5 separate regions of the Homo sapiens genome follow, and all the other regions are linked to region 2. The links are contacts of gene promoters, found by promoter capture Hi-C in blood cells and fetal thymus (Javierre and others, 2016). All regions are on one chromosome and are shown on one strand. The core of a region is centred on a gene start or on the middle of the fragment in contact, and the rest is flanking DNA. Distances in the headings are between cores, read along the strand shown.

Evidence for each region. Contacts are between HindIII fragments. The CHiCAGO score rates a contact against its expected background, and 5 or more counts as called.
Region 1: a contact is called between a fragment that was not itself captured here and the fragment with the promoter of PEX13 in region 2, in 2 of 17 cell types (activated CD4 T cells and total CD4 T cells). The highest score is 6.6, in activated CD4 T cells.
Region 3: a fragment that was not itself captured here is called in contact with the fragment with the promoter of PEX13 in region 2 in 1 of 17 cell types (megakaryocytes); the score reaches 5.4 in megakaryocytes.
Region 4: a contact is called between a fragment that was not itself captured here and the fragment with the promoter of PEX13 in region 2, in 1 of 17 cell types (total CD4 T cells). The highest score is 5.2, in total CD4 T cells.
Region 5: a contact is called between a fragment that was not itself captured here and the fragment with the promoter of PEX13 in region 2, in 13 of 17 cell types (total CD4 T cells, activated CD4 T cells, neutrophils and 10 more). The highest score is 12.6, in total CD4 T cells.

The regions. Positions count from the first base shown.
Region 1 is chr2:60,731,098-60,735,983 of GRCh38, forward strand. It overlaps the pseudogene ATP1B3P1. Among named protein-coding and RNA genes, the nearest start is that of PAPOLG, 23 kb to the right of the region's middle. RefSeq lists a silencer at 4,833-4,886. The HindIII fragment of the contact is 3,072 bases long and covers 411-3,482 here.
Region 2 is chr2:61,016,439-61,021,394 of GRCh38, forward strand. It overlaps PEX13 (peroxisomal biogenesis factor 13), which reads left to right and starts at 1,282. Exons shown (of 4, transcript NM_002618.4): 1 at 1,282-1,413. The coding sequence starts at 1,322. PUS10 (pseudouridine synthase 10) reads right to left here and starts at 1,817. Exons shown (of 18, transcript NM_144709.4): 1 at 1,570-1,817. RefSeq lists an enhancer at 1,689-1,738. The HindIII fragment of the contact is 15,520 bases long and covers 1-4,956 here.
Region 3 is chr2:60,667,123-60,672,006 of GRCh38, forward strand. No RefSeq gene overlaps it. Among named protein-coding and RNA genes, the nearest start is that of PAPOLG, 87 kb to the right of the region's middle. The HindIII fragment of the contact is 2,596 bases long and covers 1,783-4,378 here.
Region 4 is chr2:60,685,829-60,690,918 of GRCh38, forward strand. No RefSeq gene overlaps it. Among named protein-coding and RNA genes, the nearest start is that of PAPOLG, 68 kb to the right of the region's middle. The HindIII fragment of the contact is 1,928 bases long and covers 2,707-4,634 here.
Region 5 is chr2:60,712,107-60,716,967 of GRCh38, forward strand. No RefSeq gene overlaps it. Among named protein-coding and RNA genes, the nearest start is that of PAPOLG, 42 kb to the right of the region's middle. The HindIII fragment of the contact is 6,738 bases long and covers 1-4,706 here.

The sequences.
Region 1 (4,886 bases), core at 697-3,196, 280 kb before region 2:
CCACGTGGTTGTATATAGTTGCAGTTCATTCATTTTTATTGCCAGTAGTGTTCAGTTCTATAAATATGCCACATTTTACTTATCCATTCTATTTTTGGGTTGTATCCAGTTTGGGGCTGATGTGAATTATATTCCTGTATATGTCTTTTGGTGCATCTGTGTGCATATTTCTGCAGGACATATATTTAGTAGTAAAATTGCTGTGTCTTAGGGTACGTGTGTGTTCAATTGAGTATACTAACAGCTTTCCAAAGTGATCATACCAATTTATTTATTTATTTTTTTTTACAGATGGGGTCTCACTCTGTCACCCAGGCTGGAGTACAGTGGCATGATCATAGCTTACTGCAACTTTGACCTCCTGGGTTCAAGCAGTCTGCGCACCTCAGCTGGGATCTCAGCTCACTGCAAGCTTGGCCTTTCGGGTTCAAATGATTCTTGTGCTTCAACCTCCCAAGTAGCTGGGATTACAGAAGTGCACCACCGCACCCAACTAATTTTTGTATTTTTAGTACAGATGAGGTTTCACCATGTTGGTCAGGCTAGTCTTGTACTTCTGACCTCAAGTATCCAGCTGCCTTGGCCTCCCAACGTGCTGGGATTACAGGCGTGTGCCACCCCACCTGGCCCCTCTGTTTATACATTTGAGTAAATTGCCGACATGATGCCACTTTACCTCTAAATAACTTTGTAAAAACAATGATATTCCCTTACATAATCACAATACAGTTATGAAAATCATGAAATTAACACTGACACAGTACTATAATCTGTGTACTTTATCTAAATTTCATTAGTTATCTCACTAATGTCCCCTGTAGCAAAATAAAAAAAGTTTTTTAAAACCTTGGTCCAGAATTCAATCCAGCATCCCATATTGCACTTAGTTGTCATGCGTCAAAAGAAAAACCAAGCCCAGTACAATGATGTGAGGTGGGAGGATTGCTTGAGGCCAGGAATTCAAGACCAGCCTGGGTGACAGGTGGAGACCCCATTTCTACAAAAAATAAAAACCGTTATTTTTTGGCCTTTAATCTCACAATCAACAGAGAAGACTTCTGAGACCCTTGGCCACCAAAATGTGTGGGGATTTTATCCCACTAAGCAATCCTTCAGTGGATTCTCCATCAGGGTGTCCCGTAATTCAGTTCAATTCTGAGCCATACATTGCATGCCTGTACCAAAATATCTCATGTACTCCAGAAATACATACACCTACTATGTACCCACAAGAACGATAAGTAAATGAATGAATGAGTGAATGAAAATTCTGACGCTATCCTTAGGCCACTGGTACTTCTGACTGGCTAGAAACCAGGGTTCCTGCGACCTCCTCCTTGGGTTTGACTAATTTGCTAAGACAGTTCACAGAATTCAGGGAAACACATTGCCAGTTTATTATAAAAGATATCATAGGCCGGGCGTGGCGGCTCATGCCTGTAGTCCTGTTACCGGTTGAGGGTGTCCAGGTTCTTGGCGTCTTGAACAAAGAATTGGACAAAATGCACAAACAAAGCAAGTAAAGAATGAAGCAACAAAAGCAGAGATTTCTCGAAAATGAAAGTATACTCCAGAGGGTGAAAGCAGGCCTGAGCATAGGGGGTCAAGAGCCTCGTTACAGAATTTTCTGGGGTTTAAATACCTTCTAGAGGTTTCCATTGGTTACTTGACGTACACCCTATGTAAATGAAGAGGATGAAGTAAAGTTACAAAATCATTTACTCACTGTACAGCCTATGTAAATGAGAAGGATATTTCCTGTCATAGATGAGATGTTTCCATTTGATTTAGTTCTCGGAAGTCCTTAGGTTCCCTGCCTCCAGGTCCTATTATCCTGCCTAATCCTAGCAGTTTGGGAGGCCAAGACAGGTGGATTACTGAGGCCAGGAGTTGGAGACCAGTCTGGCCAACGTGGTGAAATCCCTTCTCTACTAAAAATACAAAAATTTTTTGTACGTCCGCCATGAGACGGGCATGGTGGCTCACACCTGTAATCCCAGCTACTTGGAAGGCTGAGGTGGGAGAATCACTTGAACCTGGGATGTGGGGGTTGCAGTGAGCCAAGATCATGCCACTGCACTCCAGCCTAGGCAACAGATCAAGACTCTATCTTTTTTTTGAGACAGTTTCGCTCTTGTTGCCCAGGCTGGAGTGCAATGGTGCAATCTTGGCTCACCGCAACCTCTGCCTTCCAGGTTCAAGGCTTCCAAAGTGCTGGGATTACAGGCGTTTTGTGTGTTTTTTTTTTTTTTTTTTTTGAGACAGAGTCCTGCCCTGTCGCCCAGTCTGGGGTGCAATGGCGTGATGCAACCTCCACCTCCTGGGTTCAAGCGATTCTCCTGCCTCTGCCTCCTGAGTAGCTGAGATTACAGGTGCGCGCCACGATGCCCAGATAATTTTTGTATTTTTAGTAGAGATGGGTTTCACCATGTTGGCCAAGCTGGTCTCAAACTTCCGGGCTCAAGTGATATGCCCGCCTTGGCCTCCCAAAGTGCTGGGATTATAGGTGTCAGCCACCACGCCCTGCCTTTTTTTTTTTTTAAGACAGGGTCTTGGCCAGGCGTGGTGGCTCACACCTATAATCCCAGCACTTTGGGAGGCCAAGGCAGGCGAATCATGAGGTCAGGAGTTCGAGACCAGCCTGGCCAACATGGTGAAACCCCGTCTCTACTAAAAATACAAAAATTAGCTGGGCGTGGTGGCAGGCGCCTGTAATCCCAGCTACTCACGAGGCTGAGGCAGGAGAATTGCTTGAACTCATGAGGCAGAGGTTGCAGTGAGCTGAGATCGCACCACTGCACTCCAGCCAGGGCAACAGAGTGAGACTCCGTCTCAAAAAAAAAAAAAAAAAAAAAAGACAGGGTCTTTGCCAGGCACAGTGGCTTGGGCCTGTAATCCCAACACTTTGGGAGGCCAAGGTGGGTGGATTACATGAGGTCAGGAGTTCAAGGCCAGCCTAGCCACCATGGTGAAATCCCATCTGTAGAAAAAATACAAAAATTAGCCAGGCGTGGTGGTACGTACCTGTAATCCCAGCTACTTGGGAGGCAGAGGTTGCAGTGAGCCATGATCGTGCCTCTGCAATCCAGCCTGGGCAAGAGAGCAAGATTCTGTCTCAAAAAAAAAAAATCATAAGATACAGATGAACATCCAGATGAAGAGATGGATATGGCAAAGTACGGGGGGAGGGGTGTGGTGCTGCCACGACCTGTGGGTGTGCCTCCCTCCCAGCACCTCCAGGTGTTCAGCAGAAAGGAAATTCATCAAATCTTAGTGTTTAAATTTTTTTAAAAATATTTTTCAAATACATTTTTATTGTCTTTTTTTCCTTCCTCACATGCAGAACTTCTCCACATACCAGATTTCTTGCAGCTATAAAGTCACTTGATGTTGGCCGGGTACCATTTTATCCCTAAAACTCTGTTGACATCAAAATATGACAGTGTTATAGCCATAAAATATTTACATAGCACAGCATATTAAGCTTTAGACACTTGGCAATTAAACCACATAAAAAGAGGACAAGACCCCCATCCTACATGTTTGGAATCAGGTGTTCACCGGTCCCTATCTGGTGACTGTACACTGGTTCAAAGGGCAGCAGAGGCAAGAGGCAGTTACTTCAGAGGACATTGAACACTATGATCTGGAAGCACGTTATGATGTAACCCAGTGTCATGTACCACACACCTTTCTCCAAGGTGGTCTCATAATTCTAGAATGGAAGGTCCAGCTGATACAAAATGAAGACAGACAACACAAAATTTACTCTGTGGAGACATCCTACTCATACTATGCACATGCTGTGATTTTGAACATAACTCGTCCCAAAAACTTGTCACGATCATCCTGACTTTTAAGGTTGGCTGATCCATCAATCTTGCATTCAACTGTTACTTCTTTCCCAGTATCGTTAGGAGCAAAGCTGACCTGAACAGCAACCAATGGCTGTAGATACCCCACATGCAGTTTTTCCCCATAATATGGGAAATATTTTAAGTCTATAATTCCATTATGAGGATAAACTGCTACATTTGGTATATCTTCATTCTTCGAAACACAATCTATCCTTGGCACTCCTTCAGACTTTAATCCAATTATTCTGTTCATTTTCACAAGAATACAAGGGTTTCTTTGAGAATAGCCGAAATCAAGATCATTCATACCACGGCATGCTTGAAGTAACGAAATGGGAGATTGACAAGCAACATAAACTGGACCCTTCTGTTCAAAAAGTGCTCCATCAGGACAGACTGTGAGGTTTTTCTGTTCTTCTAAAGTATATGGTTTTAGAAACTTCTTAAGGTCTTCAGTGTACCCTGCATACGAAGTTAGATCAGACCTACTGAATGCATATTCCAATGCAGTGACTGGTTTTGGAAAAACCATCAGTCCTGGGTTAAGAATCTGGTCACGGTATTTTGGAACCTCATCGTTGAGTCTGAAGCATAACCCACATCGTGAATGAGAAGAGTGCAGCCAGGAACCCATAAAAAATTAGGTAGAAGAGCAAGATCAAACCCCAGCTCTTGGCGGTGCGCCACAGGAACTCTCCGGTGGTCGGGTTGTAGATGAAGAGCTTCCACTCGGCGAGGCTCTGGTTGAGGGACTCCTTCTTCATCGTGTGCGCGCGGACGACGAGGGGAGCGGCGGCCGCGGGGACGGAGGCGGCGAGGGCAGCGGGGACGGGGGCGGCGAGGGCAGCGGGGACGGAGGAGGCGAGGGCAGCGGAGGCGCGTCCCGGCTCCGGCGGCGCAGCCCGGCGACGGCAGGGGAGGGTGGGACGACCGAGAACACCTCCTCGTTACTGGGAGTACTCGAGCCGACTGCAGTGTTTAAATTTTTAATAGAGCTAAATTTCTTGCACCCTCAGCCCTTCCAGATGT
Region 2 (4,956 bases), core at 32-2,531:
AGATATTAGAAATCGGTTGTCCATATTAGATTTATTATGTTTGAAAGCAAGCCCTGAGAAAGGCATTCCACAATGTAAGTTTTCCAGTGTTGGTTACCCTCAAGATGTTTGCTTTTCGTTTATGTGTTTGTTTTATAGAAATAACTCTGTAACAAGTTGCTACAAAGCCGCCTTTCATGTGTCAGGCTCCCTAGGAGGACTGAATCCCTCCTCCCCAAATCAAGGATAACTAGCCCAGTCTCTGGCTTACTGGAGGAGAGGAAGGACTTTATTTTCACCTCTTGGACGATTACAAAAACCAGTCATCGAAAACGAGAAAAGGGGCAGGGTATAAGAAAAACTAGCGAAATGACCAGACTGAGTCTCATATCCTAAGATCTTTTAAAACTCATTTCCCTACCGAAGGGTGTCATTCGTAACGCGGCGTGGGGCTGGGGGTGTGGATTTACGGAGAAAGAGGTGATCACACTTCACTGGGCTTCTGAAACATTCAGCTCTGGAATCTACTGTGGACTCTTGAAAAGTTCATCCCGAGATCTAACCTCAAGCCTCAGTTTTCGCCAAGCAAGCCCTTCCCCCTTCGGTCAGGTGCAACAAACTTCCCACTCACCCCTCCTTTGCTAACAAAGCCGCTCCAGCAGGAGAGAAACGAACTCTCTCCCGCCACACCTCTTTTGCACCCAGTCTGCACTCCTTCACCTCTTACCTACCCGCCTCACCTTCTCCCCAGACGCCGGAGCCTGAGATTTAACCCCTTCCGGCCCTCGAAGGGAAGAGGGAAGACTAAAGACAACGCACCTATTGCGTCTAGCAATTCTGTTCCCCGAGGAAACGTGCGTTTTAGAACAAAAGTACCAGCCCGCTCTCGCTAGGACTAAGTGAGCTTCTCCCTTCTTGTTTGTAGAGGAAATCCGAAAAACTGCCTGGTTTGCCACCTCACCCTACCTCCCCCACGAGCGAAGGAGTGCGTGCGGCTTTACTCCCAGCCCGACTGGTCCACTCCCAGAAAAGCCTCGGTGGGACTCCGACGTCTAGGGAGTTGTAGCCGCTACCAGAAATATCGATGAGCCTTTACCCTGAGGTTTAGAAAGGCAGCTCTTTCTGGGGCAAATACAAAGAGCGTGTTTCTTCCTACAAATTAGTGGCATCCTCCCGCTGTATGGATTCAGCTGGCAAAGTAACTCAAGCCTTGTCCTGACTGCAAGGGTGGGCGGGGTGGACGGCTCGGTGTTCTGCCCGTTGTGTCTTACGCTCCAGGTGCTGGTCTACGCGGGCCTGGACAGTCAGGGGTAGGAGCGGGAGCCGAGAGGAGGCGGAGGAGATGGCGTCCCAGCCGCCACCTCCCCCCAAACCCTGGGAGACCCGCCGAATTCCGGGAGCCGGACCGGGACCAGGACCGGGCCCCACTTTCCAGTGAGTGTGGGATTCTTCAGGCTGTGAGTTTAGTGGGCCCGAGCGGGGACTTGGCAGGAGGCGGTTGTAGCGGTTGTTAGTGGAGGTATTCCCTTCCCCCCTTTAACCAATACCCAACCTTGGGGATAGGGGCCGAGGTGGAGCTGGGGCGCTTACCAGTGGGGACTTTAGTGTCTCACAGCTGTTTCTGACCCGGCAGCTCTAATCAGCAACGTTTTTTTCGGGAGCTCCTGGGCGTCTCTCTGGGTCTCTGTGCTTGAAAGAAAGGGGGGCGGCTTCCTACCTACCGCTTCTGTTTTCACTTTGACAGAATGGCTTCTCTATCTTTAAAGCGTAGACTTTGGTCTGTAGCAGTTGAGAGCGGCATTTGTCCAGCCACGGCATCGACAGGGAGCAAAGTCTCTCCTTAAAGGTGTTAACCTCTCGAGAAGTTGCTGAAAGCCGGAAAGGTTTTACGCAACAGGAACTCAAGCCCCGTACACTTTGCATTCTTTTCCAGCATAACTCAGCCAGTGTTTCGGATCGAGATTGGAGAAGCAACTTTAAAGCAGGAGTTCTAGATCTGAGGCCTATGGATGGACTTTGTGTGCAAAATAGTGTATTTTTCTGAGGCCTGTATTTTTTTTTTGTTTGGTTTTTAATCAGTATCAGTTGGTTTCTAGGACTTTAAAAAGGCTAAAACATGCAGAGTTGGGAGTGTTTCGTGGCCTCGTGTGGCTTTTGTTTGGTAGTGCTGGACATCTTAATTCAGATAGGTGTGATTCAAATGTCAAATCACCTACTATTGTAGGTTTTCCTAAGCGTAAAAACCCCAACATATTGGAATGTATTTCTGCTGTATTCTGAAATCTTTTATTTAAACACTAAAATGCTTTAACACAGTAACGACTTAGTTTAATAAGGATATATACATAACAAGTAATAAGTTTGATTAGGCTGGTAAGCCACGGTGACATTATCTGCTACCTTTTTTTTGAGTGGGTTCTTTTTTCCCCATTTAGGCTGCTTGTCGAATGAGAGAGGTTTTATTTTTTGCATCTGTTAAAGTTCTTTTTATGTAAAATTAACCATTTTCCCACTTTATCGTGAAATATTTTAAACACAGAGACCAGTAGAGAGTAAGATAATACCTATATATTCACTACTCAACTTTAAACAGTGTTAACATTTGCCAGACTTATGTCGAATTTTTCAAAATAAAAGACGGCTAAACTCTCCCATTCTTCTTTATAGTGGTGACTATTGTCCTTATTTGGTGTTTCGCATACCCAGTAATGTTTTTATATTTTAGTACTTAGGTTTGTGCTATTTATATGCATTTTATATCTAAAACTTAACAATGTAACAATAATATATATTTTATATCTAATTACATGTTACTATTTATATATTATTTTTTGTATCTGTTTTTGTTTTTTCTGTTGCCCAATTTTCTATTGGCTTTATCTTTGCTTACCAATTTGTAAGAGTATTGTTAAACTAATCCTTTTTTGTTACTACATTTTGCTAATATTTTTCACTGTGTGGCTTCTCCTCTTTATATTTATGTTCAATTTTTTGTACAGATGTTTTTGATTTTAATACAGCCAAAATTGTCATATTTTATTGTTTATGCTTTTTGTCTTGGTTAAGAAATCCTGTCTACCTAGATCAGGACAGTTTTTCTGTATGTTTTCTTTTAAATCTTCCGGTTTTTTCATTTGCATTTAATCCACATGGAACTGACTTTGTATAAAAATCTAATTTTTTTTTCCATATAGGTAACTAATTGTCGCAGCACCATTTATTGAGTAGTCTATTCTTAGTTTTTAATGCCATCTATGTCATATCAAGGTTTCCTAAATATGTAGTTCTGTTTTGGGCATTTTCTGACTTTCTACTAGCACCACACTATCTTAATTACAGAATTTTATAAGTCTTGATATGTAGTATGTCAAGAGTTTCCACACATTGCTGTTCTTTGTAATTGCGCTCTTTACACTTAGTCCTTTATAAAAAGACTTACTGGGATTTTTATTGGAACTGAGCTGAATTTATGGATCAAGTAAGTTTTTATTCCATGAATATTGTATAAGCTACAATTGGTGGGAATTTATCTTTTTGCCTTAAATATCTTATAATTATCCACTTTGGGAGACTGGGCGGGCAGATCACGAGGTCAGGAGATCGAGACCATCCTGGCTAACTCGGAGAAACCCCGTCTCTACTAAAAATACAAAAAAACATTAGCTGGGTGCGGTGGCGGGCACCTGTAGTCCCAGCTAATCAGGAGGCTGAGGCAGGAGAATGGCGTGAACCCACGAGGCGGAGCTTGCAGTGAGCCAAGATCACGCCACTGCACTGCAGCCTGGGCAACAGAGGGAGACTCCATCTCAAACAACAACAACAACAAAAAACTTATAATTACCTCCATGAAATTTTTTTCCATATTTTATTTTTTATTCCTAGATTATTTTTGCTGTAGTAGTTGCAAATGGGCTTTCTTTTTTCCTTTTACATTTTCCAGTTGGTTATTAACTGGTATGGCAGAATGCTATTGATTTTTTTTAATGTAAATATTATGTACAGCATAATCTCAAACTCTTAATTAGTTCTGATGGTTTGGTTGAAATTCTCTTTAGTTTTGTGTAGCCAGTTCTGTCATTTACAGATAAGCTAGCATCCTTGTATTGGTCCTGACTTCCACTGGAGTGCTTCTGAAGTTTTACTGTTAAATGTGAAGTTTGCTTTTTGTTTTTGATAGATATCTTGTCAAAATTCTCTCTCTCTACCTTGCTCAGATTTATTTTATTTTATTTTTATTTCATTTTTATTTTTGTTTGAGATGGAGTCTCACTGTGTCTCCCAGGCTGGAGTGCAGAGACGCAATCTTGGCTCATGGCAACCTCTACCTCCTGGGTTCAAGTGATTCTCCTGCCTCAGTCTCCCGGACAGTTGAGACTACAGGCGCGTGCCACTCCGCCCAGCTAATTTTTGTATTTTTAATAGAGATGGGGTTTCACTATGTTGGCCAGGCTGGTCTTGAACTCCTGACCTCAGGTGATCTGCCCACCTAGGCCTCCCAAAGTGCTGAGATTACAGGTGTGAGTCACTATGCCCAGCCCTTACCTTGCTCAGATTTTTATTGTGAAGAAATATTAAATTTTATGAATGGCTTTTCTGCATCTGTTGAGACCATTGTATGTATTTTCGCTTTAGTATGAAAATGTGGGAATAGGAACAGCTCTGGTCTGCAGCTCCCAGCGTGATTGACGCACAGGACGGGTGATTTCTGTGTTTCCAACTGAGGTACCTGGTTCATCTCACTGGGACTGGTTGAACACTGGTCGCACCCCATGGAGGGTGAGCCAAATCGAGGCGGGGCATCACCTCACCCAGGAAGCGCAAGGGATTGGGGGATTTCCCTTTCCTAACCAAGGGATGCCGTGACAGACTATACCTGGAAAAATGGGACACTTCTGCCCAAATAGTGGGCTTTTTCCACAGTCTTAGCAACAAGCAGACCAGGAGATTCTCTCCCATGCCTGGCTTGACGGATCCTAT
Region 3 (4,884 bases), core at 1,831-4,330, 350 kb before region 2:
TTTTCCAAATGATGAACACATAATATTATAAAATCATGAATGGGGACTGGGTGCAGTGGCTCCAGCCTGTAATCCCAGCACTTTGGGAGGCCGAGGTGGGTGGATCATGGGGTCAGGAGATCGAGACCATCCTGGCTAACATGGTGAAACCCTGTCTCTACTAAAAATACAAAAAATTAGCTGGGTGTGGTGGCAAGTGCCTACAGTCCCAGCTACTCGGGAGGTTGAGGCAGGAGAATCGCTTGAGCCCGGGAGACAGAGGTTGCAGTTAGCCGAGATCATGCCATTGCATGCCAGCCTGGGTGACAGAGTGAGACTCCGTCTCAAAAACAACAACAACAAAAAAAAAATCATTAATGGCCAGGCACGCTGGCTCCTGCCTGTAATCCCAGCACTTTGGGAGGCTGAGGTAGGCAGATCACCTGAGGTCAGGAGTTTGAGACCAGCTTGGCCAACATGGTGAAACCCCATCTCTACTAAAAATACAAAAAAATGGCTGGGCATGATGGTGGGTGCCTGTAATCCCAGCTACTTGGGAGGCTGAGGCAGGAGAATCGCTTGAACCTGGGAGGTGGAGGTTGCAGAGACCCAAGATCATGTGATTACACTCCAGCCTGGACAACAAGAACAAAACTCTGTCTCAAAAAAAAAAAAAAAAGTCATGAATGAGTGAAAGATCCATTCAAAGAGTAGGATAGGCTGATGGGTTTCATGGAACAGAGACTGAAAAGTTCATTGATAACATTTCATATTCCACATTCTATAACCTTATTAAATTTTGATGTAGTATCAAATAAGTGCACCCACAATTACACAAAAAAACTATTTGAATTCTTCCTTTCCCAATTTTATTTTATTATTATTATTTTTTTTTTTTTTTGAGATGGAGTTTTGCTCTTGTCACCCAGGCTGGAGTGCAGTGATGCAATCTCGACTCACCACAACTTCCACCTTCTGGGTTCAAGCGATTCTCCTGCCTCAGCTTCCCAAGTGGCTAGGATTACAAGTGCCCACCACCACGCCCAGCTAATTTTTTTTTAGTAGAGATGGGGTTTTGCCATGTTGGCTAGGCTGGTCTCAAACTCCTGACCTCAGGTGATCCACCCACCTTGGCCTCCCAAAGTGCTGGGATTACAGGCATGAGCCACCATGCCCAGTCCCTTTCCCAATTTTATAGCTCTATAAAGCTGGATTTTCTTCATATACTTCAGCAAAACATCTCACAAGAGATTAAAAGCAGAAACAGATACGAGAATCTGGATGCCTTTTACAAAATGAGACATTAAAGATATTTGCAAACATATAAAACAATACCATTCTTCTCAATTTTATTTTTGAAAATAGTTACTTTTTGAAAAAAGTTATTTATATTAACATGTATTGTGGGGTTTTTTCGTTTGTTTGTTTGAGATGGAGTCTCGCTTTGTCACCCAGGATGGAGTGCAGTGGCTCGATCTTGGCTCACTGCAAGTTCCGCCTCCTAGGTTCATGCCATTTTCCTGCCTCAGCCTCCTGAGTAGCTGGGACTACAGGTGCCTGCCACCAGGCCCGGCTAATTTTTTGTATTTTTGGTAGAGACGGGGTTTCACCGCGTTAGCCAGGATGGTCTCTATCTCCTGACCTCGTGATCCGCCCATCTTGGCCTCCCAAAATGCTGGGATTACAGGCATGAGCCACCATGCCCGGCCACATCGTGTTTTTTTAAAAATTAATTAACATTTTTATGTATCCTTTATTGTGTCTAATATGATAAATAACAATGGAATAATTCACATAGATTAAAGCTTCTTTGAGTCTTCAATAATCTTTAAGAGTCCTGAGAACAAAAAGTTTGAGAACTCCTGATCTAGTTCAACATTTACCAAGAGTATTCTGGAAGTTAATGTTTTCTTTCCAAAAAAGGATTCTAAAGCCAAAATAAGTTTGAAAATTCCTTTGTTTAAAAAAATGTTATATATAGGCCAGGCAGGGTGGCTCACACCTGTAATCCCAGAACTTTGGGAGGCCAAGACGAGAGGATCACTTGAAGCCAAGAGTTCGAGACCAACCTGGTCAAGAGAGTGAGACCCCCAGGAGTTCGAGACTAGCAGCGCCAACGTGGCAAAACCATGTCTTTACTAAAAATGCAAAAAAATTAGCCAGGTGTGGTGGCGGGCACCTGTAATCCCAGCTACTCGGGAGGCTGAGGCAGGAGATTCGCTTGAATCTGGGAGGCAGAAGTTACAGTGAGCCAAGATCACGCCACTGCACTCCAGCCTGGGCAACAGAACAAGACTCCATTTCAAAAAAAAAAAAAGAAAAAAGATAGTGAGACCTCATATCATTAAAAAAATGAAGAAGAAGAAAAATGTTATATATATGTGTGTGTGTGTGTGTGTGTTCTATATACACACACACGCAACTGCACTTATTTGCTTCAAGACTCTGAGCCTATTATGTGCTAATGGACATTGTGATGCCCTACTGCGAGATGATGGCATGTAGATTTCCCCAAATGTACCTGACCTTTAGTTCTTCATTCATGGAATACCTATTAACATTTTAAAGACTAGTTTTTCAGCCAGGTGCAGTGGCTCACGCCTGTAATCCCAGCACTTTGGGAGGCCGAGGCAGGCAGATCACGAGGTCATGAGTTCGAGGCCAGCCTGGCCAACATAGTGAAACCCCGTCTCTACAAAAAATACAAAAATTACCCAGGTGTGATGGCACGTGCCTATAGTCCCAGCTATTCGGGAGGCTGAGGCAGGAGAATCGCTTGAACCCGGGAGGCGGAGGTTGCAGGGAGCTGAGATGGTGCCATTGCACTCCAGACTGGGTGACAGAGTGAGACTCCATCTCAAAAAAAAAAAAAAAAAAGACTAGCTTTTCTTGGACTGCATTTTGAGAAATGCTGATCTAGTACTACCTCCTCATTTTGCAGGGGAAACTGAGTCACAGAGAACTCTCAGAGAAATAGCGCCATAAATTATACTACTAATTGGTGGCTATACAGAGACTAGGAGTCAGGTGTTCAGACTGCCAGTCTAGCCGGACATGGTGGTCCCAGCTACTCGGGAGGCTGACGTCAGAGGATTACTTGAGCCTGGGAGGCAGAGGTTGCAGTAAGCCCAGATCAAGCCACTGCACTCCAGCCTGGGTAACAAAGTAAGATCCTATCAAAAAAAAAAAAAAAAAAGAAGGCAATAAGGGAAGGAAGGGAGGGAGGGAACAAAGAGACTATAGGCCGAGCATAGTGGCTCACCCCTGTAATCTCAGCACTTTGGGAGGCCAAGGCAGGCAGATTACCTGAGGTCAGGAGTTCGAGACCAGCCTGGCCAAAATGGCAAAACCCCATCTCTACTAAAAATATAAAAATTTGCCAGGCGTGGTGGGGCATGCCTGTAATCCCAGCTACTCAGGAGGCTGAGGCACAAGGATTGCTTGAACCTGGGAGGTGGAGGTTGGCGTGAGCCAAGATCACGCCACTGCACTCCAGCCTGGGCCACAGAGTGAGACTCTGTCTCAAAACAAAACAAAACAAAAACAGACTGCCAATCTAGCATTCTCTCATTCATTAGAACCTGGAAGCCTCCCCCATCCCCATCCTCACTGAAAGGGATTACAGCCCAAATTTCAGTTTATTTTCACCATCCAGGGCTTCTAATCTGTTACCTTTGAGAGATAATCCTATAAAATGCGGCAGAATGTAGATTCCAAAACCTGCAGAGATTACATTTTATGGGAGGGGAATTATCTCTGTGATCCAATTAACACAGCAAGCGACAGGGGAAAAACATAGGCTTTAGATTAGTGTTGGGGGGAGGAATCAGGACATTCTGCAAGTTAATTCATATTAACAGGTTCAAAAACCTCTGAAGTACATTTATAATTTCCTAAATCCTAATCATTAATCTGCATTGTGAACTGATAGCCTTTGGAAAGAATATTACAACTATGAATCATATGTTTCTTGTTTTGTTTTGTTTGAGACAGTTTCACTCTTGTTGCCCAGGCTGGAGTGCGGTGGCTCCATCTCGGCTCACTGCAATCTCCGCCTAACAGATTCAAGCGATTCTCCTGCCTCAGCCTGCCGAGTAGCTGGGATTACAGGCTCCCGCCACCATGCCCGGCTAATTTTTTTGTAATTTTAGTGGAGACGGAGTTTCATCTCGTTGGCCAGGCTGGTCTCAAACTCCTGACCTCAGGTGATCCACTTGCCTCAGCCTCCCGAAGTGTTGGGATTACAGGCGTGAGCCACCGTGCCCCGCCAAATCAAATGTTTTTAATGTTTGCAATTTTCTTTATGAATGTCCTAGTTTCCTTCGAAAGTTGAGTACATTTCTCCTCTCAAATGATGAGTTTATAATTCACATTTCCCTCTTCATCTTGGCTACCAGGAAGCTTTGAATCAGGTTAAACACACATCAAGATAATCAAATCAACATTTGGCAGGTGATTCCCAAATTCCTAGGTGTGGGAATTTATTTATGTCATATAGATTAGCTAAATAAACCTTCCCCTCTCAGTGGGTCACTTTTGTCATCTGTTGAGCCAAAATGAAATGGTCACTATCAAATTCCCTTTACAATCTTCCCAGGTCTCCAGGCAACTTCCTGTCCAAGTTCATGGTCGTAGCTGCTGAGAATCAAGGTGTCCATCAGACGGTTACTCTGCCTTCCCTTTCAGTATCTCCTATGCTAATATGATCAATAATTATGCAGAGGGCAATAATATTAAACTGCTTTTACCCCCTGAAGGAAATGCTTATGTGCTCAGGATTGCCTGCATTTTCTGAGTATATTCCAAAATCTCTGAAGATTTTATTCATGCAAGTTAAGTGTGACCTTCAACTAAACTCAAATCTATAATTTAAAGTGGCCTCTTTGACTCAAAATCCTCTCCATT
Region 4 (5,090 bases), core at 2,421-4,920, 330 kb before region 2:
CTCTGTCGCCCAGGTCGGAGTGCAGTGGCGCGATCTCTGCTCACTGCAAGCTCCGCTTCCCGGTTTCACGCCATTCTCCTGCCTCAGCCTCCCGAGTAGCTGGAACTACAGGTGCCCACCACCACGCCCGGCTAATTCTTTTGTATTTTTAGGAGAGACGAGGTTTCACTGTGTTAGCCAGGATGGTCTCGATCTCCTGACCTCGTGATCCGCCCGTCTCTGCCTCCCAAAGTGCTGGGATTACAGGCGAGAGCCACCGCGCCCGGCCTAAACCATCTCTTAATACACTTCTTTGTCTCCAACTTTGGCCCTCATCATCAGTTCCAGGACCACAGAGAAAGTCCCACCCAATATGTCATTTCAGAATTTTTTGGAGTGTTGCTGTTGAGAGAAGCAGAGACATGGTTGCTGGAGAAGGATATGGGATCAGAGAGGCATTTCCTTAGTTTATTCCTTTCTCTTTCTTTCTTTTTACTTCTTCCTTCTTTTTTTCCTTCCTTTCTTTTTTTTAGGCTGCAATGTAGTGGCACAATCATACCTCATTGCAGCTTCGGGTGAGCACCAGCACACCTAGCTTTTTTTTTTTTTTTTTTTTTTTCATTACTTTTGTAGAGACCTAGTCTGACTATGTTGCCCAAGCTGGTCTCAAACTCCTGGCCTCAAGTGATTTTCCCATCTTGGCCTCCCAAAGGGCTGGGATTACAGGCATGAGCCACCATGCTGGGCCCAGGGAGGTATTTTCTTAACTGGGAAGTATTGCCACATATTTGTACACTGATGGGAATAACCCAGTAGCGGGGGGCAGACAATGACACAGAGCAAGGGGATGATTGCAGGAGCAAGTCCTTAAGCAGGCAAGAAGGGGTGGACCAGGGAATACACAGTGCCAGTGATAGGAGCAAGGATGGGACATTCATCGCAACTCTCCAGGAGGCAGAGCATAGGCGGCTACAAATGAAGGTACATTTGAAGATTCTGAATCATTCTCTGCTGATTGTTTTTATTTCTTCCGTGAAAAAAGGAGCCACAAGCCAAGTGTAGTGGCACACACCTGTAGTCCCAGCTATTTGGGAAGCTGAGGCAGGAGGGTGTCTCGAACCCAGGAGTTCCAGGTTACAGTGAGCTATGATTGCACCACCGCACTCCAGCCTGGGCAACAGAGTGAGACTCCATCTCAAAAAATAAAAATAAAAAATCATGCCCGTAATCCCAGCAGTTTGGGAGGCAGAGGCGGGTGGATCACTTGAGGTCAGGAGTTCAAGACCAGCCTGGCCAACATGGCAAAACCACATCTCTACTAAAAATACAAAAATCAACTGGGTGTGGTGGCACACGTCTATAACCCCAGCTACTCAGGAGGCTGAAGCAGAGAATTGCTTGACTTGGGAAGGCAGAGTTTGCAGTGAGCTGAGATGGTGCCATTGCACTCCAGCCTGGGCAACACAGCAAGACTCCATTTTGAACTCCTCACCTCGGCTTCCCAAAGTGCTGGGATTACAGGTGTGAGACAACACACCCTGCCGAGACTCTGTCTCAAAAAAATAAAATCATAAAAGACAAAAATTTTTAAAAAAACTTTAAAAATAAAATAAAATAAAAATAAAAAGAGACAACAGGAGCCAGGCCAACAGCTAAGAGTGAGAAGGAGAGAGGTGATATTGAAAGGTTGATGACAGAGGAAAAAGCTATAAGGTAGTCATTTCAAAGGGGGAGAGCAACTTGACCATGGCAATAAGCTGGACAACTGGACGAGGCTGTGGGCTCCTGACATTCACCATCCTATGTGGGCTTTTTTCCGCCACAGCTAGCTGCTCAGGTGCAGGCAGGGAATGGAGGGTGAGGGGTGCTAAGTTCATCAGAGTTGGGGTTTTGCCAGGGAAGTGTGGATGGAAAGAGAGGCAGGTGAATTGAATGTCATATCAAGGTGTGATGTCAGGGATGAACCACGGAATCCAAACTGATCAAGGTGGGAAGAAGGGAGACAAGGAGGTCATAGAAAAGCGAGTAATTGAGGGGAGGTCGGTGGACTGGGGTCCCAGTGGGAAGAATGCTGGAGCATGTCAAGAGACTGAACATTTGGGAGTTTTCCTGGGATTTCCTCCATATCATGAAACACTTGTTCCCACTGTTCTTGCTGTAATTCCCTAGCATTGCCTCACTTACCATCTTTCTGTGGGTCCTCTTTATGTTAGGTTAGTAGCCTCTGCCACCTCAGATGTATGCCTGCCTCAACCTCTCTGATACATGAGATTCACAGCTTCCCCAGACCTACCTCACTTTCATTAGGGAGGAAACCTATTTTCTTTCCTCATTATCCATTTTATTTTTATTTTTCTTTAAGATGGAGTCTTGCTCTGTCTCCCAGGCTGGAGTGCAGTGGGGCAATCTCGGCTCACTGCAAACTCCGCCTCCCGGGTTCAAGCCATTCTCCTGTTTTGGCCTCCCAAGTAGCTGGGACTACAGGCGTGCACCATCGCGCCTGGCTAATTTTTGTATTTTTAGTAGAAACGGGGTTTCACCATGTTGGCCAGGCTGGTTTGAACTCCTGACCTCAGGTGATCCACCCGCCTCAGCCTCCCAAAGTGCTGGGATTACAGGCATCAGCCACCACACCTGGCCTCATTATCCATTTTCTTCCCCTCTCTTGGTTCTCTTTCTCCCTAACATCCACCTCTCTCTCCGTGGGCCACCCAGAGGCCTCATAGAAGCTTTCTTTCTCCAACCAACCCATTGACTCCTCTTCCTGTGGTGCCTCCCACACCACCATGGTTGTGTCCTAGTTTTTCTATTGACTTCTTTTCAAATTTTTGTTCATCAGATCAGAACGAGAAGTGGTTGCAGATAAAGTTTACAGGAGAAGGGTGTGACCACCATCCTCTTTACAGGAAATAACTGGCAGTCGTAGAGAATTAATCCAGTCTGCAGCTGGGCGCGGTGGCTCATGCCTGTAATCCCAGCACTTTGGGAGGCCAAGGCGGGCAGATCACGAGGTCAGGAGATCAAAACCATCCTGGCTAACATGGTGAAACCCTGTCTCTACTAAAAAAATACAAATATTACCTGGGTGTGGTGGTGAGCGCCTGTAGTCCCAGCTACTCGGGAGGCTGAGGCAGGAGAATGGCGTGAACCTAGGAGGCAGAGCTTGCAGTGAGCTGAGATCATGCCATTGCACTCCAGCCTGGGCGACAGAGCCAGACTCCATCTCAAAAAAAAAAAAAAAAAAAGAGAGAGAGAGAATTAATACACTCTGCAATACCTCATGTAGTCGGAGAGAGAGAGCATTGTCTGCGTGTATCTCCCATGGTAGTAGAATTCCCCAGGGCCTGGCTTGCTTGGCAAGGGGCTAATGCAGGGCAGTAGCCGACAATAGCTGGCTCTGGGTGTCCACTTAAAAGCCCCAAAACTCATAAGGAATCATGGGTTATTAATATGGCAAGAGGACGAGAGAGATTTGTTTCTGCACACACCTGAGAGCCCCCTGGCTTCAAGTTTTCCAAATTTGCTTTAAAATAATTGTTCTGTTTCCTATAGTAGCAACAGTTTTATGGTAGCAAAGATGGTTCACTGGATCTGCTATGGTTAGACTGTGTCCCCTCCAAAATGCAGCTGTTGAAACTTAATGGTGGATATGGTTTGGCTCTGTGTCCCCATCCAAATCTCATGTCAAATTGTAATTCCCCATGTTGGGGAGGGACCTGGTGGAAGGTGATTGAATCATGGGGGAGGATTTTCCCCTTGCTTTTCTTATGATAGTAAGTGAGTTCTCATGAGCTCTGGTTGTTTAAAAGTGTGTTGCACATCCCCCCCTTACTCTCTCTCTCCTGTTGCCATCTAAAGACATGCTTGCTTCCCCTTTTCCCTTCCACCATGATTGTAAGTTCCCTGAAGCCTCCCCAGCCATGCTGCCTATACAGCCTGTGAAACTGTGAGCCAATTAAACCTCTTTTCTTTATAAATTACCCAGGCTCAGGTAGTTCTTTATGGCAGTGTGAGAATGGACTAATACAATGGCCAATTGATAGTATTAAGAGGTGGGGCCTTTAAGAGGTGAGTAGGCCATGGGGGCTTCTTCCTCATGAATAGGATTAAGGCCTTTGTAAAGGAAGCCTCACACAGCATTCCTCCCCTCCATAGCATACAGCAACAAGGTGCCATCTTGGAATCAAAAAGCAGCCTTCACCAACCAAACCTGCTGGTACCTTGATCTTCGACTTCCCAGCTGTGAAAACTGTGAGAAATAAGTTTGTGTTCTTTATAAATTACCCAGTCTCAGGTATTGTGTTATAGCAACACAAACAGCTAAGACAACATCTCAAAATTTATTCTCTTCTTTTTAAATAATAGCACCCCTAATTTTTAACTCGACACATGGGTATCCAAAATAAAAACCAGACTCATTTGTAGCTAGGTGTGGCCATAAATCTAAATCCTGAGCACAATGGGTTGTGATTTCTGGTCATACCCTTAAAAGTATCTGGTCATACCTTAAAAGTCATCCCTTCACCCTTTTTCTTGCCTCTACCCCTCTGCTTGGAATGGCAAAGAAACAGGGCAGAAGGAGCCAAGGTCTCTGCATGATCTTGTGGATCAGAGCCACTATACCTGCCCTGGGCCATCTTCACAAGACAGAAATAAGCTTCCATCTGGTTCAGCACACTGTTACTTTGGGGCTCTGTTACCTTCACCTGAGATTGTATCCTAACTAATACCTTCATCCCTCTCTTTCTTTAGCTATGTAGGTGACAGACGTACAAAATGCCTAATGCATGCTTTGCTCTTTCCATCCTTCATTCCATTCTTGAATCCATCATTGATAAGATTGTTACTTTGGTGATTTTCTTCTTAATAATAGAGCATTTAAAATTTATATCAGGCTGAGCACGGTGGCTCACACCTGTAATCCCAACACTTTGGGTGGCCAAGGCAGGCAGATCACCTGAGGTCAGGAGTTTGAGACCAGCCTGGGCAACGTGGTGAAACCCCGTCTGTACTAAAAATACAAAAATTAGCCGGGCATAATGGCGGGCGCCTGTAATCCCAGCTACTCGGGAGGTTGAGGCAGGAGACTCACTTGAAACTGGGAGGTGGAG
Region 5 (4,861 bases), core at 88-2,587, 300 kb before region 2:
TAGAGACGGGGTTTCACCATGTTAGCCAGGATGGTCTCGATCTCCTCTCCTCGTGATTGGCCCACCTCAGCCTCCCAAAGTGCTGGGATTATAGGCGTGAAAGATTTGTTTTTGTTGCTATTATTATTTTACCTTTTTTTTTTTTTTTGAGACGCAGTTTCGCTCTTGTTGCCCAGGCTAGAGTGCAGTGGCTCGATTTTGGCTCACCGCAACCTCCACCTTCCAGGTTCAAGTGATTCTCCTGCCTCAGCCTCCCGAGTAGCTGGGATTACAGGCATGAGCCACCATGCCCAGCTAATTTTGTATTTTTAGTAGAGATGGGGTTTCTCCATGTTGGTCAGGCTGGTCTTGAACTCCCGACCTCAGGTGATCCACCCACCTTGGCCTCCCAAAGTGCTGGGATTACAGGCATGAGCCACCACGCCTGGCCTTTTTTTTTTTTTTTTTTTTTTTTAACCTTTGCCTAGATGTCAGAGGATGTATGAGAATGCCTGGGCGCTTAGGCAGAAGTTTGCTGCAGGGACAGGGCCCTCATGGAGAACCTCTGCTAGGGTAGCACAGAAGAGAAATGTGGGATCAGAGCCCCCACACAGAGTCCCTACTGGGGGCACCACCTAGTGGAGCTGTGAGAAGAAGGCCACCATCCTTCAGACCCCAGAATGTTAGATCTACTAACAGCTTGCACCGTGCACCTGGAAAAGCCGCAGACACTCAATGCCAGCCAGTGAAAGCCGCCAGGAGAGGGGCTATACCTGCAAAGCCACAGGGGTGGAGCTGTCCAAGGCCGTGGGAGCCCACCTCTTGCATCAGCATGACCTGGATAGGAGACATGGAGTCAAAGGAGATCATTTTGGAATTTTAAGATTTGACTGCCCTGCTGGATTTCAGACTTGCATGGGGCCTGTAGTCCCTCTGTTTTGACTAATTTACTCCATTCAAAATGGCTATATTTACCCAATTCGTGTACCCCCATTGTATCTAGGAAGTAACTAACTTGCTTTTGATTTTACAGCCTCATATGTGGAAGGGACTTGCCTTGTCTCAGATGAGATTTTGGACTGTGGACTTTTGAGTTAATGCTGAAATGAGTTAAGACTTTAGGGACAGCCGGGTGCGGTGGCTCAAGCCTGTAATCCCAGCACTTTGGGAGGCTGAGGCGGGCAGATCACGAGGTTAGGAAATCGAGACCAACCCAGCTAACATAGTGAAACCCCGTCTCTACTAAAAATACAAAAACTTAGCCAGATGTGGTGGTGGGCGCCTGTAGTCCCAGCTACTCAGGAGGCTGAGGCAGGAGAATGGCATGAACCCGGAAGGCAGAGCTTGCAGTGAGCTGAGATTGCGCCACTGCACTCCAGCCTGGGTGACAGAGCGAGACTCCATCTCAAAAAAAAAAAAAGACTTTAGGGGACTGTTGAGAAGGCATGATTGGTTTTGAAATGTGAAGGCAAGAGATTTGAGAGAGGCCAGGGGCAGAATGATATGGTTTGGCTCTCTCTCACACCCATAGCTCCCGTAATTCCCACATGTTGTGACAGGGACCTGGTGGGAGATAACTGAATCATGGGAGCAGGTCTTTCTTGCGCTGTTCTCATGATAGTGAATAAGTCTCATGAGATCTGACGGTTTTAAAAATGGGAGTTTCCCTGCACAAGCTCTCTCTCTCTCTTTGCCTGCTGCCATCCAAGTAAGATGTGACTTGGTCCTCCTTGCCTTCTGCCATGATTGTGAGGCCTCCCCAGCCATGTGGAACTATAAGTCCATTAAACCTCTTTCTTTTGTAAATTGCCCAGTCTCAGGTATGTCTTTATCAGCAGCGTGAAAACAGACTAGTACAGATCAGGAGTTCAAGCCCATTCTGGCCAACGTGGTGAAACCTTTTCTCTCCTAAAAAATACAAAAGTTAGCCAGGCATGGTGGTGCATGCCTGTAATCCCAGCTACTTGGGAGGTTGAGGCATGAGAATCACTTGAACCTAGGAGACAGAAGTTGCAGTGAGCCAAGATTGTATCACTGCACTCCAACCTGGATGACAGAGCAAGGCTCTGCTCAAAAAATAATATTGATAACAAATAATTAACAGATAGTCCCCTTGCCTCTCACAAGTTAGACAGAACTGCCCAGAATGCCCTGCTGAAGAGTTGTAACAGATAACCCTGTTCCTCCTTAACCTCTCTGTGCTTCATTTGCTCACCTGTAAAATAGTGATCATAGTAGTACCTATCTTGTGGCGATGTAGAGAGGATTAAATAAACTAATTAAGAGGGCCAGGCACAGTGGCTCATGCCTATAATCCCAGCACTTTGAGAGGCTGAGGTGGGCAGATCACTTGAAGTCAGGAGTTCGAAACCAGCTTGAACAACATGGTAAAACCCTGTCTCTACTAAAAAAAAAAAAAAAAATTGCCAGGCATTGTGGCAGGTGCCTGTAATCCCAGCTACTCGGTTGGCTGAGGCAGGAGAATCGCTTGCACCCAGGAGGCAGAGGTTGTAGTGAGCTGAGATCGCACCACTGCACTCCAGCCTGGGTGACAAAGCAAGACTCTGTCTCAAAAAAAAAAAAAAAAGAAGCCAATTAAGGTGGAAGCACTTAGAACAGTGTTTGCACATAGTAGGCCTTCAGAAGTGCCCTAGCCTATGGCTTGCAGTTATTAGGGAGATCAGCCTTTCAGCAGGGCATGGAAGAGAAGGCTTTCTACCAATCCCACCCAGAAACCGGAAACAATTTGCCAACAGGGTAGTTTCTCCTCACTATTAAAGACTGATGAAAGGGGGTATATTAGTCTGTTCTCATGCTGCTAATAAAGACATATGTGAGACTGGGTAATGTATAAAGGAAAGAGGCTTAATTGACTAACAGTTCAGGCGGCGCGGAGGCTCATGCCTGTAATCCCAACACTTTTGGAGGCCCAGGCAGGTGGATCACCTGAGGTCAGGAGTTCAAGACCAGCCAGAATAATATGGTGAAACCCTGTCTCTACTAAAAATACAAAAATTAGCCAGGCGTGGTGGCGGGCACCTGTAGTCCTGGCTACTCAGGAGGCTGAGACAGGAAAATTGCTTGAACCCAGGAGGCGGAGGTTGCAGATATCACACCACTGCACTCCAGCCTGGGTGACAGAGCGAGACTCCATCTCAAAATAATAATAATAGGCCGGGCATGGTGGCTCACACCTGTAATCCCAGCACTTTGGGAGGCCGAGGTGGGTGGATCACAAGGTCAGGAGTTTGAGACCAGCCTGGCTAACATGGTGAAACCACGTCTCTACTAAAAAAAAAAAAAAAAATACAAAAATTAGCCAGGTGTGGTGGCGCTTGCCTGTAATCCCAGCTACTCGGGAGGCTGAGGCAGGAGAATCGCCTGAACCCGGGAGGCGGAGTTGCAGTGAGCCAAGATGGCGCCATTGCGCTCCAGCCTGGGCGACAGAGCAAGACTCTGTTTCAAAAAGAAATAATAATAATAATAATAATAATAATAATAATAATCGACTCACAGTTCAGCATGACTGGCAAGGCCTCAGGAAATTTACAGTCATGGTGGAAGGGGAAGCAAATATGTCTTTCTTCACATGGCGGCAGGAGAGAAAACAAATGCCCAGCAAAGGGGGAAGCCCCTTATAAAAACACCAGATCTCGTGAGATCTAACTCACTATGGCAAGAACAGGATGGGAGAAACCACCCCCATGATTCAATTACCTCCCAATGGGTCCCTCCCATGACTCATGGAGATTATGGGAACTACAGTTCAAAATGAGATTTGGGTGGGGACACAGCCAAACCATATCAAGGGGTATCAGAAAGAAAGTGAGCCGGAGATCACCCACTGGCCTGCAACTGCATCCATCCATGTTTTATTTGCTCTGATTTCCATCACCTGCTGGCCCCCAAGGCATTTGAGTTTGTGACATATGATATCTTGCTAATCATCTTCATTATGGAATTCTCCACCACTTCAGTCAGAGAGTAATGGTTTAATAGCTGAGAGAGAGCAATCCTCTCAGACGTAAAGGAATAAAGAAAAGACTTTAGCATTTTCCATCACTGTATGATAAGTCACTTATTTCAAGGTTTCATACATGGAACCTCAAGGCTAAGTGGACAGGGGCCTGGGAGTGGATTTTAGGGGTTTTCATAGGTACTTTTGTTAGAGTAGACAGCGAGTCAGACATGAGTAGGGTAAGAGAGCCCCCCACACAAACACACTCACATACACCAGGAATGTCAGGCAACCATCAGGTGATGGTCAGGTGGTTGTTAAACAGTTTCTCTAAAATTGTTCACAGCCAATACCAGGGAAAGGCAGTCTTCCAATAGATAAAAACACCTGAAACTGGCGATCAGCAGCTTCCCGATAAGATCTTAGGAGTTGGGCAAGTAGGCTCAAGCACGAGCATTAAGAGTCAAAATGACGGAGTTTAACATACATGGCCACCTTCTAGGGACATTCGACTGGTAAGGGAAGAACACCTCAAGTGAGCATGCGCACAACTCCAGTAAACACACCATGCGTGCTCACCTCCCAAGTGCTAGCAGGCTTACCGCACATAAGCACAGCCCACCCCAAGGGAAGAATCAGGGGAGAAGGGATGCAAGCCCCCAGAAATATGCCAGCATATAAAACCCCAAGTCAAAAGGTCAAACCACACACTTGCCTTTGAAGTCGCCTGCTTCCCAGTGTACTTTCCTTTCCTTCATTCCTGCTCTAAAGCTTTTTAATAAACTTTCACTCCTGCTCTAAAATTTGCCTCGGTCTCTCCTTCTGCCTTACACCCTTCAGTTAAATTCTTTCTTCTAAGGAGGCAAGAATTGAGGTTGCTGCAGACTTGTACGGATTCGCCACTGGTAACATGTTTTGGTGCTG